Regions from separate parts of the Homo sapiens genome. Here regions 2 and 3 are each linked to region 1. The links are contacts of gene promoters, found by promoter capture Hi-C in human tissues and cell types (Jung and others, 2019). All regions are on one chromosome and are shown on one strand. Each heading gives the region's core, a stretch centred on a gene start or on the middle of the fragment in contact. The rest is flanking DNA. Distances are from core to core; before and after follow the strand shown. Region 1 holds the start of CDC42BPB (CDC42 binding protein kinase beta). Region 2 has its middle 57 kb from the start of EIF5. Region 3 overlaps LOC105370686 (a long non-coding RNA gene).

What was found. The method cuts DNA at HindIII sites, captures the fragments that hold promoters and counts their contacts. A contact is called where the count stands out against the background at its distance.
Region 2: a contact is called between a fragment that was not itself captured here and the fragment with the promoter of CDC42BPB in region 1, in 1 of the 25 tissues and cell types used here (lymphoblastoid cells).
Region 3: a fragment that was not itself captured here is called in contact with the fragment with the promoter of CDC42BPB in region 1 in 1 of the 25 tissues and cell types used here (dorsolateral prefrontal cortex).

What each region holds. Positions count from the first base shown.
Region 1 is chr14:103,056,108-103,058,807 of GRCh38, forward strand. CDC42BPB (CDC42 binding protein kinase beta) reads right to left here and starts at 1,442. Exons shown (of 37, transcript NM_006035.4): 1 at 892-1,442. The coding sequence starts at 1,066. RefSeq lists silencers at 1,114-1,193, 1,284-1,783, 1,824-1,933 and an enhancer at 1,929-2,579. The HindIII fragment of the contact is 24,533 bases long and covers 1-2,700 here.
Region 2 is chr14:103,275,373-103,278,317 of GRCh38, forward strand. No RefSeq gene overlaps it. Among named protein-coding and RNA genes, the nearest start is that of EIF5, 57 kb to the right of the region's middle. The HindIII fragment of the contact is 6,253 bases long and covers 1-2,945 here.
Region 3 is chr14:103,307,096-103,310,079 of GRCh38, forward strand. The region is part of intron 1 of LOC105370686 (a long non-coding RNA gene); the gene reads right to left. Among named protein-coding and RNA genes, the nearest start is that of EIF5, 26 kb to the right of the region's middle. The HindIII fragment of the contact is 5,149 bases long and covers 1-2,984 here.

The sequences.
Region 1 (2,700 bases), core at 192-2,691:
TTTTTGTCCTAAAAAAGCATAATAGGTTAGCTGACCAATGATTAAAACATTATAGATCCGGAACGAACTAGAGAAGGCATGCAAAATTCAGATGAGAAAGTTTCTAAGTGATAGCTCCAGCTACCCCTCCAAATATCACAAAGGTCTAGCAGAATTGGAATTAAAAAAAAAAAGTCCTCTTGCACGGTTTATTTAAAATAAAGCCTTAACCTTAAAATTCCCTTGAAGGTGTTACAGCAAAGTAGGTATTCAGGCTCTGACCAACAAGGGGATGTAGACAGGCTGTCACCCAGGAGGGGCCGTTAGAGCTGGGCTCCCTGGGGATGCAAGGGGGTCCCACGGGGCAGTGGGCGAGGCAGATGCAGAAAGCACACCCAGCTGCCCCCACAACGCAGAGAAGCGTGGGGTGGGGAAAGGGAACTAATTCCACACTGCCTCCGGACCCCAAAGGCGAGGTGCGGGGGCGGGGGCGGGGGCGGGGGCGGATATCCCAGTGAGTGCTGCAGGAAATGATATCCAGACTCGGAGGGTGGATCTAGGAAGCCGCCAGGGCGAGGGCCCGGCGGGGGGGAGGGGGTGGGAGTGGGAACGTAGGATGTGGCTCCAAGGGGCAGGATGAGGGGGCGGGACGATCGAACGCGGATGTCGAGCCTAGGGAGGGCAAGGAGGGATGAAAAGCTAGCGGAGGGACGAGGGTGCAAGGAGCGGCTGGAGAGAGATGGGCTGCGGGCCTGGGGGCGCTGCCAGAGCGAGAGGAGGCGAAGCCCACGAGCTGGGTGGGCAGGAGGGCGGCAGGGTCTGTCCGGGCGGGGATGGGCGGGCGTGGGGATGCGCGGGCTGGGGCGCGGGGGTCGCAGAGCCGCAGGTCCGGCCCTGCCGGCGCGCACTTACCCCACTCGAGGAACTCGGCCACGTACTTGTCGCGGCGCAGGGCCGAGTGGCTGCACTCGGTGTACAGGCAGACGAGCACGTCGAGCAGCGTTTCCACGCTCAGGGCGCTCTCGTTGCGCCAGGGCCCGTCCAGGAGCAGCTGCTCCAGCTTCTTGAGCCGCACCTTGGCCGACATGGTGCCGCGCGGCCCGCTCCCGACGCGCCGGCCTCTCACCGCCGGCTCGGCCAGTCCGTCAGGGCGCGCCCTCGGGGGCTCGGCGGCTGCGAGCCCCGGCAGCAGCGGCGCCTCCTCGCCGCCCCGTCCGCGTCGTCGCGCCCCGGCCTAGGCCGACATCTTGGGCTCCGTCCCGACGGCGCAGAGTCTGGGGCGCCGGGCCCCGCGGGTCCATGGGCCGCTCTCCTCCCCTCGGCGCCGCCGCCCTCCCAGCTCGGGCGGCCCGCCCCCGCCGCCCTCAGCCCCGCCCGCGGCCGCGCCCTCCCCGCCGCCGCCGCCGCAGACTAGGAGCGGCGAGGAGCCTAGCGCTGCGCAAGCCCGGCCGGCGCCCGAGCCCGACCCCAGCCCCGACCCGGCGGCCCAGCCCCGCGGCCCGCAGCCAACCAGGGCGCGGCCAGCACCAGCGCAGCCAACCACTACGGGGCCGGCCGCCGCCGCGCTGACCTCAGCGCGCCGCCCCGCCCCGCGCCCGGCTCCCTGCTCCCGGCGGGCTCGGGCCTCGCCGCTTGCCGTAGGGAGCCGGGATGCTGGGAAGGCAGGGCCGGGCCTGGGGAGCGGCGCGGGGTGGGGGTGGGGGGGGCGGGGCGGGGCGAGTGGGCCGCTGAGATTGCGGAGCCCGCGCATGCGCAGAGCGCGCCTGGTGGGCGTGTGCGCCTTCGCCCTGCGGACCCGGTGCCTTCAGTATTCGGGGTCCGACCGCGCGCGTCGCGGATCCCGGGGCCGAAGACGACCCCAAGTATCGGAGAGGCAGAGTCGCGATCTCAGGCCGTCGAGCCCCGTCCCGCAGTCCGCGGGCCCATGTTGCCTGCGGGGCCTCGGACCTGCCCGGCCGAGGTGGGGGTCGAGGGCGGCCCGGCAGGCGCAGCTCTGATGGCCTCGGCGGGTTGTGGGCTATTTAAAACGGCTTGTCCCAGCTCGAAGCGGTCCTGGAAGACTCGGGCCCTACCCCTGACTTTACCGATGAGAGACTGAGGCCCAGACGGTGTGGGGTCAGGGCCCAGGCTTCTGGGGGATGCTGCCAAGGCGGGAGCCAGCGTCCCCAGTGCCCGGTGGATTCGTGATGGCTTGCAGAGGGTTTCAGTTTCCACTGTCCAGCCCTCCCTGCAGACCAATGCCTAGGTGTGACAGTTTGGTAGGAAAGGGGCCGGATATTTGTCTCCAGGCTGGGTTTGCCTAGCGAGTCGCTGCATTTACTAAGATTGTTGGTTAATTTGGGTGGCTGGGGGAGGGAGGCTGATGGAGATACCCCCCAACCCCAACAAACCCTTGGCGTCAGGAGAGGAGGGGCTTTTCCTGGAGCTTGCGGAAGGTCACCGAAATCGTGGGGGTATCTGAGAGCTTCTGGGGCGCGCGGGTGCAGGGGAAGGGGTCATGCTTCCGTGGAAGCGGTGGCCTCCAGGTGGAGCCGATGAAGGGGCAGATAGGGGTTTGAAGCAGGACGTTAAGGGAGCCTGAAGCAAAACTAATCTCTGGAGCTAAAAATAGGAGTGGGCCTGGCGCGGTGGCTCACACCTGTAATCCCAGCACTTTAGGAGGCCGAGGTGGGCGGATTGCCTGAGCTCAGGACTTCGAGACCAGCCTGGGCAACACGGTGA
Region 2 (2,945 bases), core at 14-2,513, 220 kb after region 1:
TAACATAATCAAATGTATTATCCTTTCCTTTATGATCAATGCTATGGTCTATGTAATAAGCACTTCTCTTCCCAGAGTTCATGAAAATCTTCTGTTATGTTATCTTCTCTAACCCTTGTTGCTTTGCCTTTTGCAGCTAGAGCTACCATATATCTGGATTTTGTTTTTGTATATTAAGTTTTCTTTGTGTCCACCATCTGTTGATCAACCATCCTATTACATTTGTTGAAAGGACCATTCTTCCCCTACCATCATTAGGCAGTGCCCTCTCTGTTCTATTTGTCTGTCTTTCTACACTATTTGCTGTCGCTTTATTGTAAATCTTATAACTTTATTGTAAATCTTGATGCCTCTGGTGGACCAAAATCTTCCCACCTTATTATTCTTTTTAAAGAATATTTTGCCTAACTTTGGTCCTATGCATCTCTATACAAGCTTTAGAATCAGCTTGATGGACTGCAATCAAAATACTTGCCAGAATTTGATTAGGATTACATTGAAGCAAATTGGTTTCAGAAAAATTAACATATTTTAAATATTGAGTCTTTTAATCCATGAACATGTTTGTCTGTTTCTCTTTAATCTATCACAATAATGTCTCATAGTTTTCTGCATAGAAGTCATGTACATCTTTTGTTAGATTGTTACCTAGGTATTTGCTGTCTTTTGATGCTATTAAAATGCATTTTTATTTTGCTCTTGCTTGTTATTTTTGTATTGTTGGTCTATAGAGTTGCAAATGATTTTTATGTGTTGGCTTTGTAACCAGCAACCTTGTTAAACTCTCTTATTCATTTTAACAATTTATGCCAGGCACAGTGGCTCATGCCTGTAATCTCAGCACTTTGGGAGGCCAAGGTGGGAGGACTGCTTGAGCCCAGGAGTTCCAGACTGGCCTGAACAACATAGTGAGACTCAGTCTCTACAAAAAAAAAAAAAAAAAAAAATTAAGTTAGCCAAGCCTGGTGGCACACGGCTGTGGTTCCAGCTACTTTGGAGGCTGAGACGAGAAGATCACTTGAGCCAAGGAGGTCGAGGTTGCAGTGAGCTATGATCGTGCCACTGTGCTCCAGCCTGTGTGACACAGCAAGACTCTCTGTCTCAAGAAAAAAAAGAAATACTAGATTTTTCACCTGGTTAGATGATTAAAAAACAAAGAAGAAAGAAAAAGAAAATGTAAAAAGAAAAAATTATTAGACATTTTTATATTTTCAATGAACATATATCAGCTACATAATGAGAGTATTATGCCTTTTGTTTCTTTTCCTGGCCTTAGTCACATTGTTGAAAACCTCAGTGCAGCGTTAAGTAGAAGTGGAGATAGTGGGAAACTTGACAAAAGTGTGTATAATATTTATTATGTACGGTATGATATTTACTAGAAACTTCCTGTATCTATCTTAAATAGACTGAGGACATTTTCTTTTATTCCCAGGTGGCTAACAGTCTTTTTGTCATGAATGGATGTTGAATTTTATCAAATGCTTTTCCCACAGCTACTCAGATGGTCATATGATTTTTCTTTTCTATTCTTTTACATGACCATTTAAATTTATTTTTAGCATATTAAGTTAATCTTACATCCCTGTGTTAAAGTCCACTTAATCGTAGTGTGTTATCTTTTTTAATTTAACACTGAATTTATTTTATTTAGGATTTTCACACCTGTGAATGTGTGAGTGTATGTGAGACTGGCCTGTAAATTTCCTTTTTCATGATGTCCTTGTCTGATTGATAGCAAGGTTACCCTGCTCTCATAAAACAAGTTCCCTCTTTTTCTAGTCTCTGAGAGAGGTCTTTTCTTTTTTGTAAAATGAACTCTTTTTTTCTCCCTTAAATGTTTGTTACAATTAATCAGAGAAGACATTGGAACCTACAGCTTTCATGTGGGAAGTTTTTAATTATATACTCAATGTATTTAATAGATATGGAACTATTCTGATCTGTTACTTTAATTTTAGCTTAATTAGTTATATATTTTAGGAGTTTTTTCTTTTCATCTAAATTTTCAAAGACCCAACATCTGGCTTTGTTGATCCTCTCTGTTCTTGTTTTCAAATAATTTGTGCTTTATTTTATTTTTTCTTTTCTTTTCTTTTTTTTTTTTTTTTTTTTTCTTGCTAGAGACAGGGTCTTGCTCCATTGCCCAGGCTGGAGTGCAGTATCAGAATCTCAGCTCAGTGCAGCTTTGACATCCTGGGCTCAAGAAATCCTCCCACCCCAGCCTCCAGAGTAGCTGGGACTGGGACTACAAATGCATACCACCTTGTCCAGCTAATTGTTATTTACTTTCTTCTACTTTATTTGGAATTAATTTACTGGATATTTTTCTTCCTTTTTTTTTTTTTTTTTTTTTTTCGAGACAGCCTAGGCTGTCGTCTAGGCTGCTGGAGTACAGTGGCACAATGACAGCTCACTGCTGACTTGACCTCCCTGGGCTCAGGTGATCCTCCCACCTCAGCCTCCTGAGTAGCTAGGACCACAGGCATGCACCACCATGCCCAACTAATTTTGTATTTTTTGTAGAGATGGTGGTGTGGTTTGGCCGTGTCCCCACCCAAATCTCATCTTGAATTGTAGTTCCCATGATCCCTGTGTGTCATGGGAGGGACCCAGTGGGAGGTAATTGAATCATGGGGGCGGTTACCTCCATGCTGCTGTTCTCAGGATAGTCAATGAGTTCTCACAAGAGCTGATGCTTTTATAAGGGGTTTCCCCCCCTTTTGCTCAGCACTTCTTCCTGCCCCCATGTGAAGAAGGACTTGTTTGCTTCTCCTTCCACCATGATCGTAAGTTTCCTGAGGCCTGCCCAGCCCTGCGGAACTGTGAGTCAGTTAAACCTTTTTCCTTTATAAATTACGCAGTCTCGGGTATTTCTTCATAGTAGCGTGAGAACAGACTAACATAGACGTGGTCTCACTATGTTGCCAGGGCTGGTCTCGAAC
Region 3 (2,984 bases), core at 216-2,715, 250 kb after region 1:
GATCTCAAGTGATCTGCCCACTTCGGCCTCCCAAAGTGCTGGGATTACAGGCGTGAGCCACCACGCCCGGCCAATTTAGCATATTCTTAAGTGTCCTAGGATTTTCTGAATGGTAAACAAGCACTGGCTTCCATGTAAAGTCACCAGCTGCATTAGCCACTAACAAGAGAGTCAGCCTGTGCTTTGAAGCTCTGAAGCCAGACATTGACTTCTCCTCTCTAGCTATGAAAGCCCTCTTTCTATGAACCAACCTCTGGTGGCTTTCAACTTTTCTTCTGCATCTCCCTCACCTCTCTCAGCCTTCACAGAATTGAAGAGAGTGAGGGCCATGCTCTGGATGAGGCTTTGGCTTAAGGGAATGTTGTGTTTGGTTTGATCTATCCAGACTCCAACTCCCTCCATAGCAGCAGTGAGGGTGTTTCACTTTCTCATCATCCATGTGTTCACCGGAGTAGCACATTTAAATTTCCTTCAAGAACTATTCCTTTGTGTTCACAACTTGGCTGTCTGTCGCAAGAGACCTAGCTTTTGGCCTATCTTGGCTTAAGGAGGCCTGAGGAGTTGGAGAGAGATGGGGGAGCGGCCGGTCTGAGGAGCACTCAGAACACACAACGTTTATCCATTAAGTTCACTATCTCAGAAGAACACGGTTTGTGGTCCCCCAAAACAGTGATGATGGTAACATCACAGATCATCGTAACAGATATAATTCTAATGAAAAAGTTGGAAATACTGTAAGAATTAGCAAAACGTGACAAGACAGACATGAAGTGAGCACATGTTGTTGGGGAAAAAATGATAGATTTGCTCACAGACCTTGAATTTGTTTAAACATTAAAACAATATCTGCAAGATGCAATTAAGTGAAATGCAATCAAATGAGGTTTGCCTGTATTTCTAAAATGACTTAAACGTTGAAAATGTAAAGGGTCCTTTGGACCCACAGAGCCAGTGGTGACGCTGAGGGGGAAGCAATTGCTGTCGATGCTGTAAGGTGTAACAGGGGCCCTTTAGTTACTTAAGAAAATGACCTTGGCCAGGCGTGGTGGCTCATGCCTGTAATCCTAGCACTTTGGGAGGCTGAGGCAGGAAGATCCCTGGAGTCCAGGAGTATGAGACCAGCTTGGGCAACATAGGGAGGCCCTGTCTCTTAAAAAGAAAGAGAGGAAAGAAGGAAGGAAGGAAGGAAAGGAGGGAGGGAGGGAGAGAGAGAGAGAAGGAAAGAAAGAAAGAAAGAAAGAGAGAGAGAGAGAGAAAGAAAGAAAGAAAGAAAGAAAGAAAGAAAGAAAGAAAGAAAGAAAGAAAGAAAGGGAAAATGACCTTCTTTGGGCTGGGCGTGGTGGCTCATGCCTGTAATCTCAGGACTTTGGAAGGCCGAGGTGGGAGGATTGTTTGACCTCAGGAGTTTGAAACCAGCCTGGGCAACATAGCAAAACCTTGTCTCTACTAATAATACAAAAATTAGCGAAGCACAGTGGCAAGTGCCTGTAGTCGCAGCTACACAAGAGGCTGAGGTGGAAGGATCACTTAAGACTGGGAGGTAGAGGCTGCAATGAGCCATGATCATGCCACCATGCTCCAGCCTCAGTGACAGAGTAAGATCCTCTCTTGAAAGAAAAAGAGAGAGAGAAAGAAAGAGGAAGGGAGGAAGGGAGGGAGGAAGGGAGGGAGGGAAGGAGGGAGGGAAGGAGGGAAGGAAGGAAGGAAGGAGAGAGAGAGAGAGAGAAAGAAAGAAAGAAGAAAGAGAGAGAAAGAAAGAAGAGAGAGAGAAAGAACAGAAAGAAAAGAGAAAGAAAGAAAGAAGAAAGAAAGAAAAAAGAAAGAAGAAAGAAAAAAGAGAGAAAGAGGAAGGGAGGGAGGAAGGGAAGGAAGGAAAGAAGGAAGGAAGGAAAGAAGGAAGGAAGGAAAGAAGGAAGGAAGGAAGGAAGGAAGGAAGGAAGGAAGGAAGGAAGGAAGGAGGGAAGGAAAATAAATGACCAGGATGCTTTGTTGAGATGCTGGGCAAAGCGAGGGTGGCTGGCAAGGCCGAGTGGTTGCCGTGAGTGCTGCTGTTTGCTCTGCTCCTGTGAATGTCGGACCTCTCCATAATACTTTTCTTCAGAAACGAGAACAGGAGAATGCTTCAGCAATGCAGCTGTCACTCTGCACAACTGGGAGTGCAAATGACATGCCCTAGTCAGGCCCTGGCATGGAACGTGTCCACCTCCACACTGGGAATAGCAGAAGCCCCACCGGCCGGTCTATCCTGGCTGCCCCAGAGCCTGAGACCCAGTCCTAGCCCAGCAGGTGGTCCAGAGGGAGAGGAGCTCAGGCCCCCAGGGAGGCTCCAAGGCGGGTCTTATCAACACCACTCAGTCAACCGGCCTTGAGAAGGTCAGTCTGAGGGTAGATGGAATCCCAGCTCCTGTCCATCAAGGCACAGGCCTTGATCTTAGGACAACTACTGGTGGGGGGCTGTTCCCTCCCCAGCACAGCAGCTGACAAATGGGGATCCCAGCAAAAACTGCCAGAATCCCTGAAGTTAAAGCTCCATCAGTGCCATGTTTTTGGGTACCTCCTTCCCCAGGCAATGGCAGCAGAAAAGTTTGTGAGAAACCAAGGCTGGCAGGTGCCCAAGAAGGCCAAGAGTGGATGCCATAGGAAGGCTGGGGAAGCCATGGAAGGCACTGCCTTCTCTGCCAGGCCACCACAGTGGTCCCCAGGGCCAGGCTTGATGACAGGCCCCTACATGCCCTTACCCAGCTCCAGCCAGGGTGCCGGGGGGTCAGGCAACCCATCCAGGCCGGTCTCCTTCACAGCTCTGCCCAGAGTCTCTCCAAGATGTGCAGCTGCTTTCTAAGCTGAAACGTCTCCTGGTCCAGTGGGGCCCACTAGCACAACCAGCTCGTCCTGGTTTTAGCAGCGAAAGCCCTGTGTGCTCATCCTGGGGCCTGCTTGCCCATCATTTAAATAACCAAGGAAGGCTGGGTGTGGTGGCTCACGCC